Linked DNA regions of Homo sapiens: region 1 is linked to region 2. The links are contacts of gene promoters, found by promoter capture Hi-C in human tissues and cell types (Jung and others, 2019). All regions are on one chromosome and are shown on one strand. Each heading gives the region's core, a stretch centred on a gene start or on the middle of the fragment in contact. The rest is flanking DNA. Distances are from core to core; before and after follow the strand shown. Region 1 overlaps IGF1R (insulin like growth factor 1 receptor). Region 2 holds the start of PGPEP1L (pyroglutamyl-peptidase I like).

Region 1 (5,477 bases), core at 2,331-4,830, 150 kb before region 2:
GATGCCCTGTCCAGTACAGGAGCCGCTAGCCACATGTGGCTATGGAGCACTTGAAATGTGGCTAGTGCTACGGAGGAACTGGATTTTGGATTTTTTTAAAGTTTTAATTTAAATTTGAATAGCTACATGTGGCTAATGGCTACTGGACATCACAGATCTAACACAGGATTAACTGACAAAATTCTTTCCTCTTAAAAATATGTGTTTATTTTGATAAGGATAACTGAGACCTGTACATTCCATTTTTCCTGTCATATTTAGGGCTCATAAAGGGGGTGGTATGCACGTTTTAAAAAATGCAACACAACCAGTTAAACCAGCTGTCTAATTGTACACATTTCCTGGAGCTGTTGGTGTTGATTATTAGCAAATACTAAGTACTTGTAATGACCTAAGAACTATAAGACAAGCAAGTCGTCTTCTGTAACTGAGTATCAGCGGATTCAAGCGTTAAGGAAAATGATTAAGAGAAAACAACCAAAAAAGTCTTAATGGTTCTGTCAATCAAGTGGCTATCAATTCATGGCTATTCAAAAGCTTTTGTGGCTATGAAAATAAACTAGATTGAAAAAATTCTAAAACAAAATTGAAACACTCATTTGAGTTTAAAATTTTAGTTGAGTTGATTTTTATTTCTTGTTTTGGTTCATTTGTAGTTTCCCCCCGCTTCGTTGTTTCCTCAGATATGGAGAATAAAGCCTGGCTGGTCAGTTTCAGTTTTTATTTAAATTCATTTTGTCTTCATTCCTTTTAATCTAGCACAGTCCTGTGATGTATTGGGATCACAGTGCTCTGGGGAAACATTGAAATATAAAAACATTTTCCTGAAAACATTTCCAGTTATATTTAATTTTCCTCCTTGAATAGAAAAATATTTCCAACTTAATCCTCCCTCTCCCCTCTTGAAATGAATTGCATGCTTTGGAAATAACATCAATCCACCCAAGTACACAAGGACAATCTCAGCCATTTAATCGAGATATAAAGGCTTAGAGAACTCTGGGCTTCGGAGGCACAGACTCCACCTTTCAGGATGCTAATAAACGTGGACGAGGTCTCGCCTGGGCTTCCTCCTCCATTGTTCAGCGCAGCAAACCAGCACAGCACTCCGTGGCCAGGGTTTGCGGGGAGAAATCTCTCACTCTGTTTTAGTAGCATCATCATCCTTATCAGCACCCTGCTTTTATTTTTGAACAGCCAAACTTCCTCTTTCCAAACTTCGTGTGACATCTGGGACCAGCTATGTTTGAAGGAGTCTGAACATGCCACATAGTGGCTCACGCTTTTAAGGGAGGAAGGCCAGTAAGCCTCCTCAATGGCAGAATTCTACTTTCAGTCTACCCTTTGGTTCTGTTGTGGTTGTTCCTTAGAACTTTATTCTGCTCATTAGGAAGCCCAGCCTCCGGGGAGGGTTTAGCTTCTCATCTAAGCAAGAAGTAAAATGTCATAATGGAGGAAAAAAAAAAAAAAGTCCAAACTTTTTTTGGACTTTTAGAAACACATCCAGTTTGAGCTCCACTGAGCTATCATTGCAGTTACAAAGCCCATGTATATTGAGATCGGTGTAAAAATTCAGCATGTCCACCTGCATAATTATGACCAGTGTATTGAAAGCACATTTCATTTAGTTTTGCAACAGCCGATGAGGTAGATTCTACCAACATTGTTTTACGGAAGAACAAATGGAAGCCTGGAAAAATAAATTGTCTACCTCACACACTTCGCAGGTGGTAAACACAGGATTTGAACTAAGACATACTTGATTTTAAAGTGTTTGCTTTTCCTTTGCACTACTGCATCTGCGATGTTTGCACTCAGACACTCTAGAATATTTGGTGTTGCATGTTTTTGCCCCAAGAAAGAACCCATTAAAATGAAACTTTCCAGTTCGTAAGCTTTGCCCTCAAGAAGGGAAAGAACTTCTTGCAAGGTTTCTGAAACAAAAAGAAAATGAAAAGTAACTTTACTGTATCTGGGTTTTCTGATTAAATTACGGTTTTTGCAAGCTTGTGCATTTCTCAGTGTCCAGATAGCCAGGATTTTTCCTTTTAATAAATATCACTTTAAAAAACAAACACACACATTCTTAAATGCATGATTAACTGTATAGATTGATTTAGTTATAAGATGTCCTAGCCTAAATATAAGAAGGTGTATGTGTTAGAATTAATTTCTTCAATAAAGAGAAAGAAATTCAGGAATTGTGGTTCTGTTGGTCTTCTGTACTGTATATTTTTGTGCAGCCAAAGCAGCATGCCTTGCTTCTTGGTTTCATGACCACATGGGTAGTTTCTTGAAGTTTTTTCTTTTGAGATGGAGTCTTGCTCTGTCACCCAGGCTGGAGTGCAGTGACGCGATCTCGGCTCACTGCAACCTTCACCTCCCGGGTTCAAGCAATTCTCCTGCCTCAGCCTCCCGAGTAGCTGGAATTACAGGCATGTGCCACCATACCTGGCTAATTTTTGTATTTTTAGTAGAGACGGGGTTTCGCCATGTTGGCCAGGCTGGAGTTTCTTGAAGTATTGACTGATCCTTGACTCTGAACTGTATGATCAAAGACTTTTGAAATGGCACACCGTTTCTTAACATTTAGGCCAATTTCAGTTGCTCATATCCAAAAATAAGTCATGATTTTCGGAGTCAGTGCGCAGCACTTAGTACAACAATCCAAACCCTTGTACAGACCATCCTAGTAGAAATGTGGATCTTGAGTATCTCAGCTTCTTAGTAGATTTTGAACTCCGTGAAAGCAGGAGCCAGGCCTCTCACAGCAAGTCTCTCCAATATGCTCAGTAAATATTTGTCAGATCGAGCAATGACCAGATGATGAAATACATTAAAGCCTTAGGGAGAACTGAGACTACTGCACCAGTTTTTGTGCACTATCATGCTGGAAATCTTTCCAACATGTATTCTGTACTTCTTTGCTTCTTACTCCAGTGAATATAATTTAGTCATTTCTGGCCAACTTGAGGACATCAGCGAGCATAAATTGTTGTATTATGCATAATACAGTGATACCCTCAAGGCTGAGTGGGAGGCAGTTTGCCCTCTGCTGAAGGTTTCTTGTGCTTATTGTGTTCTTATGGTTTGGTTTTACCATTTTTATGTCTCCATTTCTGTTTAATAGACTTATTTCAGTAAGAAGAGAAAGCCGTCTCCATCAGCCCCTCTGTAGGTGATTATTTGCCACTTCCTTTTTGCTGTGAGTGCTTTGAAAACAGATTTCTAAGCTTGTTAGAGTTATGTGTTAAGAGTAAATAGGCAGTAAGTGAAACCAAGCTTCTTCCTGGTGCTTGACTACCCCAGAAATGTTTATTTGCTGAATAGTTGAGTTCTGGAAAGGTGAGGTATAAATGTGTGATAAATTTATTCCTTTGCATGATTTTTTTTTCTTTTTCTTCCCTCCCTCCCTCCCTCCATCTATGTCTCTGTCTTTCTCTGAACATCTCTCCGTCTCAGTCTGTCTCTCTCATGATAGTTGCTGGAATAATTTAAATGAATGTAACTCATTTACCCACATCGAAGCCCAACTCAGTAGTGAAAAAACAAATCTTCCAAATGAATGCACTTTCCCCTTGATGTGCTATATACAAGACCTTGGCACACCTAGTTCAATGACATAGTATTTTAGAAGGGCCTCCTTACACCTTCCTCTCAGATAAATATACATGCAGGGACATTCTGAAGAAGTTTGTTATCGGTCTTCTCCCCTCCTACTATTAGCTCCGCCCTCCTAGTCCTTCTCTTTCACCATGCTGACCCGCGTAGGGAGGACCCTTACACCCTCTGCATGCAGCGCTGGTGCTCCTTAGTGTTCATAACCCCAACCTCCATGGCCTCTCTCGCAGTTCTCAGGTTAGGCCCTGCTTCTAGGGGACATTAGCTTTCCACCCTCTACTACATACTTCCTAGTTGTTGCAGCCTTTGCAAGCAAAACTTGTTTTCATTTGGGAGACAGCATGGTCTGACAGAGCCTAGATCCTGGGGTGAAGACATTCTGGGTTTGTATCCCGTCTTTACCACCTCTGAGCCTCTGATGCTGGACAAGTCAGCAAGTCTTTGCACCTTAGTCTCCTTTCTGTAAAAAGGAGCTTATGGGGATGTAATCAGAGAAGCCTTAGCATGGCTCTTGGTACAAGGCACGGACCAAATCCATGGTACGCTCACTCCTTTCCTTTCAGTAATACTGCCTAAATAGGGCACATGTACCTAAAAGGATTTTGTACATTCCTTGACAGCAGAATTCTCATCTTCTGTTGCATATCCCATAATGCTGGGAACACAAAATAAAAATGGTAGCTTTTCACATTCACTTTTGGCCTCAATTTTTTGTTATTCCCCAATGAGGATCATTTCATTTGGGGCTGGTCTCCGGAAAAAAGTAGATCAAGCTTTTCAGATGAGATTTGGGTGAAACCCTGACAAACTCTTTTTATTGCCTTCCCTACCACATAGTGGTGGATCAGGAAACTGTAGGGCTTATGATGCTGGGAAATTTCTGCTAATGCAATAAAGATTTTTGCTGTTGAAAGAATTTGATCTGTTTTATGTATAACATGCAGAGAGCAGAAGCATATATTATCTGTAGCAGATGATAGAGCAGGGTATATGGGCAAGTTAGAAAAACACAGTTCTCACTACATTTGAAGAAAAAGGACAAGGAGTTGTCACAAGGATCCAGGAGAGTCGCACATAATTTTCTGTCGTGCATTTTGTTGACTGTTCCTCTTTGCATCCTTCAACCATCTTAACTTCCCACTTGCACCTCGCTGGAAGACAAATCTAAGCTAAATTAAATGCTAGGCAATATGTCAGAATGGAAAGGGCCCTCAACTTGGGATGCCCGGTTCTCTACCAGCCTGAATAAACTCCAGCAACAGTATTTCTCTAGGAATCATCTGTAAAAAGTAGAGGTTTGTCATATCTCTAAACTAGGGATTCACCTTATTTATTAAGCTATCAGTGACTTTATCTTGAGGTGCACGGCTTTTAGTAACTCTGGTTCAAGTGCAAGGAATGCAAAGTTAAGTGTATCATTGGAGGTGGGATTTTTGAGTTTGTCAGTCATTTATTGATTTGCATGTATCCTTATAGTTCAAAGGTCTTTTTCTCAACTTAGTTGATGATCATGCTGTAAGTTGTTTTCTTTTGCTTTATCAACTTTTAAAAACGTTTATTAACTTTTTAATTTGAAATAATTTCAGACTTGCATAAAGGTTACAAAGAGTACCAGGAGTTCTGGAACACCCTCCACCCAGCTTCCACAGATGTTAACATCTTACATAACCGTAATACGGTTATCAAAACAGTGTTCACTCCATACTCCAGTGCTGTTAATCTCCAGACTGAATTCGGATTTCACTATTTTCCCACTGATGTCCCTTTTTTTGGTTCCAGATCCAAGAGACGATCCTACCTGGCATTTATTGTGTTCAGTTTTTCTAATTCTGGGACGTTTTCCTGGGTTTTCTTTA
Region 2 (5,604 bases), core at 47-2,546:
CCAATATCTTGATCTTTCGGAGAATTCTATTTAAAAACAAAACAAACTTTTGGCCAGGTGCACTGGCTCACGCCTTTAATTTCAGCATTTTGAGAGGCCAAGGTAGGAGGATAGCCTGAGGCCAGGAGTTCAAGATCAACCTGGGCAACGTGGCAAGACTGCATCAATTATTTTTTTCAAAACGTGGTATATGCCCATAGTCCTGGCTTCTCAGGGAGGCTGAAGCGGGAGGATCACTTGAGCCGTCAGTCGTAACTGCACCTCTGCACTCCACCCTGGGTGACAGAGTGAGACCCTGTCTCTAAAAATATTCTTAAACTTTTTTTTAAACTGAAAATACTTTTTTCCTGAAGCTGTATATTAAGAGGAAGAAGACCCATGATTCTCTGTCCCCATCTAGGTCTGGGGAGGAGAAGCTCCCTTCAGGGAAGCAGGCAGAGCCTCTCAAGCACCCTGCGGCCTCTAGAGAGCTCAGTGTGACAGCAGGACCACGTGGCTCCATCTGCTGAATTGTCCTCCTGATATAAAGCGCTCCCTTTTAATTGGGATCACCCCCGCGGATTAGACCCCCCTTGGTGGCTTTCTGGGATTCTGAACCAGGAACAATTCCCTTTAATTAGCTCCTGGTGTGGGCTGCAGGCCTCTTCACTGCCAACAGGTGGGAAGCGCCATTTGCTCCCACTAGTCTCCCACTCCCTGTCCTGAGAAGCTGGGCCCACCTTGCCATGAGTGGGATGCAGAGGATTTTTGTACTTTGCCTCATTTCACAGAAGTTACCCGGTTTCTCAATATACCCCGGATGCACTTGTAGACTTGGTCTCTACCTCCTCTGGTGAGCAGCTCTCCTAGCTCCTATCACTTACCTAGTTCCGTCATGGTGTGTCCAGAATCGGCGGATTCTTGGTCTCACTGACTTCAAGAACGAAGCCGCGGACCCTGGCGGTGAGTGTTACAGTTTTTAAAGGCAGCGTGTCCCAAGTTTGTTTCTTCTGATGCTCGCATGTGTTCGGAGTTTCTTCCTTCTGGCAGATTCGTGATCTCGCTGACTTCAGGAGTGAAGCTACGGACCTTCATCATGAGTGCTACGGCTCTTAAGGTGGCGTGTTTGGAGTTATTCGTTTCTCCCGGTGGGTCCGTGATGTGGCTGGCTTTAAGAACGAAGCTGCAGACCTTCACGGTGAGCGTTACAGCTCATAAAGGCAGTGCGGACCCAAACAGTAAGCAGCAGCAACGGTTATTGCAAACAAGCAAAACAACAAAACTTCCACAGCACAGAAGGCGACTCCAGCAAGTTGCTACTGCTACCTGGGGCAGCCTGCTTTTATTCTCTTATCTGGCCCCACCCACATCCTGCTGATTGGTCCATTTTACAGAGAGCCGATTGGTCTGTTTTACAGAGAGCTGATTGGTCCGTTTTGACAGGGTGCTGATGGGTGCGTTTACAATCCTGGAGCTGGACACAAAAGTTCTCCACGTCCCCACTAGATTAGCTAGATACAGAGTGTGGACACAAAGGTTCTCCAAGTCCCCACCAGAGTAGCTAGATACAGAGCGTCGATTGGTGCATTCACAAACCCTGAGCTAGACACAGGGTGCTGATTGGTGTGTTTACAAACCTTGAGCTAGATACAGAGTGCCCATTGGTGTATTTACAATCCCTTAGTTAAACATAAAGGTTCTCCAAGTCCCTTCCAGACTCAGAAGCCCAGCTGGCTTCACCCAGTGGATCCCGCACCAGGGCCGCAGGTGGAGCTGCCTGCCAGTCCTGTGCAGTGCGCCTGCACTCCTCAGCCGTTGGGTGGTCGATGGGACTGGGTCCTGTGGAGCAGGGGGCGGCACTCGTGGGGGAGGCTCAGGCCGCGCAGGAGCCCATGACGCGGGGGAGGAGGCTCAGGTATGGCGGGCTGCAGGTCCCGAGCCATGCCCCGCACGGAGGCAGCTAAGGCCCCGCGAGAAGTCGAGCACTAACAGCTGCTGGCCCAGGTGCTAAGCCCCTCACTGCCCGTGGCCGGCGGGGCGGGCTGGCTGCTTGGAGTGCGGGGCCCGCCGAGCCCACGCCCACCCGGAACTCGCACTGGCGCGCAAGCGCGGCGTGCAGCCCCGGTTCCCGCCCGCGTCTCTCCCTCCACACCTCCCCGCAAGCTGAGGGAGCCGGCTCTGGCTTTGGCCAGCCCAGGAAGGGGCTCCCACAGTGCAGCGGCGGGCTGAAGGGCTCCTCAAGTGCCGTTAAAGTGGGAGCCCAGGCAGAGGAGCCGAGAGTGAGTGACGGCTGCGAGGCCTACCAGCATGTTGTCACCTCTCAGTGGGGGCTTGGCTTCCTCTGCACAGTTAAAGGAAGAGATTGGACCATTAAGAAATGCCCACTTCTTCTTTTTTTTTTTTTTTCAGATGTAGTCTCGCTCTGTTGCCCAGGCTGGAGTGCAGTGGCGCGATCTCGGCTCACTGCAGCCTCCGCCTCCCAGGTTCAAGCAGTTCTCTCCCTCAGCCTCCGGAGTAGCTGGGATTACAGGCACCTGCCACCAGCCCTGGCTATTTTTTGTATTTTTAGTAGAGACAGAGTTTGACCATCTTGGCCAGGCTGGTCTTGAACTCCTGACCTCGTGATCCACCTGCCTCGGCCTCCCAAAGTGCTGTGATTACAGGCGTGAGCCACCGCGCCCGTCCAGAAATGCCCACATTTGTAAAGTTGGTTGCTGCTAGGGTCCAACTCTGCTATCAACATTCACCTATGAGGTCTGGGAATGGGAACTTGTGTTTAAGGAGACTCCTTAAGTGCAAAGACTGCCCATCTTTAACCATACTACTTTTCTGATAACAAAGCTGAAATTTTCATCATTTTTTTTTTGATTTGACAGGAGCTATTATTTTAACTAAACTGGAATGTGTCCTGCAGTTTTCACTTTCCCATAATTCACTTATTTTTTTCTGTTCTAAAGTTTTCTCTAATTTTGAAATTAATAGAAAAAACAACACAAAATATTTTACTTAGTCACAGTGATATGTCTATTTTTGTATTCATTCACCTCCCCTCTCCCCACACAAGAACCCCCCAGCACATTCCTACTTTCTGGAATGAAAATAGCTCTGAGAAGTATGGATTTTGAGGTTCAACATCTGCACTTTTATTTCTTTTTCCATTGTAAAAACAAATGGTCTCTAATAATTGATGTCAAACACAGTCTTTAGGCTGATGAAATACAGTAAGCCTGAGAACGAATAAGGCAACTAAATGGAGCTGTTTTATTTAACAGAGAGCACAGTGATCTTCCTTACAAGCGGGATTCCCGAGAGGAAAATGTTTGTAATCAGATTTGACTCTAGGATTAAGAGGGCAAGGTGCGACCCTCTTAGTGAACCGGAAAGTAAGCAACGGTACACAAGTGTTCTCACCAGGGACAGCAAATGGGAGTTGCCAAGATTACAAGATCCCAAGACCTCAACTATTTCACGTGCTGAACTAAACTCAAAACTTTGTGGGATTTGTTTTAAATTTCTCATTGGCAAGTGGTGACTTCCTGCTCTCGCAAGAAAAAAGATTAAAGGGGTTTGTTTACTGTCTCTGACACAAACAGCTCTTACAACACATTTTGTACACTTGACATAAATGAAATTTAATCAAACTGGTCAAATTCCTTTGGGAGGTGGGGAGAAAATAAATCAATCAGCAAGAAGCACTTGTGATTTCCAAAATAATGATAACATAAGTCTTTCTCCATGTCAAACATCACTGTTTCCAGATAAGCGACTTAGCTCTACTATAAAACACAACCCATAGCCAAATTGCTTCTTGTCAAAGCACTAAGGGATCCTCCAATAATGTCACTCTACCAAGGCAGATTCAGAACTCACCCTCCTCTATACCTCTGCCTCTGCAGCTTTGTACCCCAGCAGGGGCCAGCCAGCACACGATTTCTGAAAAGGGCCATAAAATAAATGAATAAATGTAGTAGACTTTTTTTTTTTTTTTTTTGAGACAGGGTCTCACTCTGTGGCCCAAGCTGGAGTGCAGTGGTGCAATCTCGGTTCACTGCAACCTCCGCCTCCCGGTTCAAGCAATTCTCGTGCCTCAGCCTCCTGAGTAGCTGGGATTACAGGTGTGCACCACCACACCCGGCTAATTTTAGTAGTGCCTGTAGTCGCAGCTAATCGGGAGGCTGAGGGAGGAGAATGGCGTGAACCTGGGAGGCAGAGCTTGCAGTGAGCCGAAATCGCATGCTGCACTCCAGCCTGGGCGACAGAGTGAGACTCTGTCGCAAGGTGATATTTCTGTTACATTTTGTAGGAGAAGGATTTGTCTTTATTTTTCTTCTGTCTTATATTTTTCCCTCAGACTTTTGCTAAGCCTTGATCACTTTTTTTTTTAGGGACTACAGCTCCTTGACTGCAAAGTAACAACTGTTGCAAAAGGAAGTTTTCTACTTGTTAAAATCCAGTAGCTTGTTACCCCTATTGTTTAAATACTGGATTTTTCTTTCAAATTTCACAAATATCTTAGGAATGACTGGAACATTTGTGTTCTTAACACTGAGGAAATTCCTGTGTAGACAAATGAGGCCAGATGGAGGGTGCAGCAGAGAGCTTAATATCCTCTTGGAATGGAAGAGGGGCCACACTAAAACATGCACCAGGCCTTCGAGGGGCCGCTATTTTCCAGTATACACATGTAAGAGGCATTTTTCTTTTTTTCTTGACTGGGGCCAAAGGTAACTTTCGTGTCAGAAGTGAGTGCTAAGTGGCTGAGTAGGTTTGAGGAAGGCTTAGCGATCCAGCTTATTTATAGACAATCCGATTATAATATTTATGATCATTGATTTTTAAAAATTACTGGACCTCTTAAAAATGGTTAGATATGAGACTGGTATATACTGAAGCTAATAGCTTTCTCTTTTTAAAGAGATAGTGTTTCTCTCTGACGACACACAGGCTGGAGTGCAGTGGCACTGTCAGAGCTCACTGCATCCTCAAACTCCTGAGCTCAAGCGATCTTCCTGCCTCAGCCTTCTGTGTAGCTGGGACCACAGGTGTGTGCCACCATGCTTGGCTAATTTTTCAATTTTTTTTTTTTTGTAGAGATGGAGTCTTGCTATGTTGCTCAGGCTGGTCTTGAACTCTTGGCCTTAACCAATCCTCCTGCCTTGGCCTCCCAAAGTGTTGGGATTACAGGTGGGAGCCACCTCTCAGGGCCTAAGAGTTTTCTTATATATCAGCAATAACTAATTCTAATGTAATTGGAGAAAAGAGCCCATCCACAATGCCCTTCAAATATCAGAAATCTCTAGGAATAAACCTGGCAAGAAATGTATGAGATCCTTTTGTGGAAAACTGTGGAACTGGCGGGGTGCGGTGGCTCACGCTAGTAATCCCAGCACTTTGGGAGGCCGAGGCAGGTGGATCACCTGAGGTCAGGAGTTCCAGACAAGCCTGGCCAACATGGTGAAACCCTGTTCTCTACTAAAAATACAAAAATTAGCTGGGCGCGGTGGCTCACGCTAGTAACCCCAGCACTTTGGGAGGCCAACGCAGGTGGATCACCTGAGGTCAGGAGTTCCAGACAAGCCTGGCCAACATGGTGAAACCCCATCTCTACTAAAAATACAAAAATTA

What was found. The method cuts DNA at HindIII sites, captures the fragments that hold promoters and counts their contacts. A contact is called where the count stands out against the background at its distance.
Region 1: a contact is called between a fragment that was not itself captured here and the fragment with the promoter of PGPEP1L in region 2, in 1 of the 25 tissues and cell types used here (bladder).

What each region holds. Positions count from the first base shown.
Region 1 is chr15:98,857,624-98,863,100 of GRCh38, forward strand. The region is part of intron 2 of IGF1R (insulin like growth factor 1 receptor); the gene reads left to right. Among named protein-coding and RNA genes, the nearest start is that of MIR4714, 76 kb to the left of the region's middle. The HindIII fragment of the contact is 3,260 bases long and covers 1,951-5,210 here.
Region 2 is chr15:99,006,496-99,012,099 of GRCh38, forward strand. It overlaps PGPEP1L (pyroglutamyl-peptidase I like), which reads right to left and starts at 1,297. Exons shown (of 5, transcript NM_001167902.2): 1 at 864-1,297. The HindIII fragment of the contact is 12,693 bases long and covers 1-5,604 here.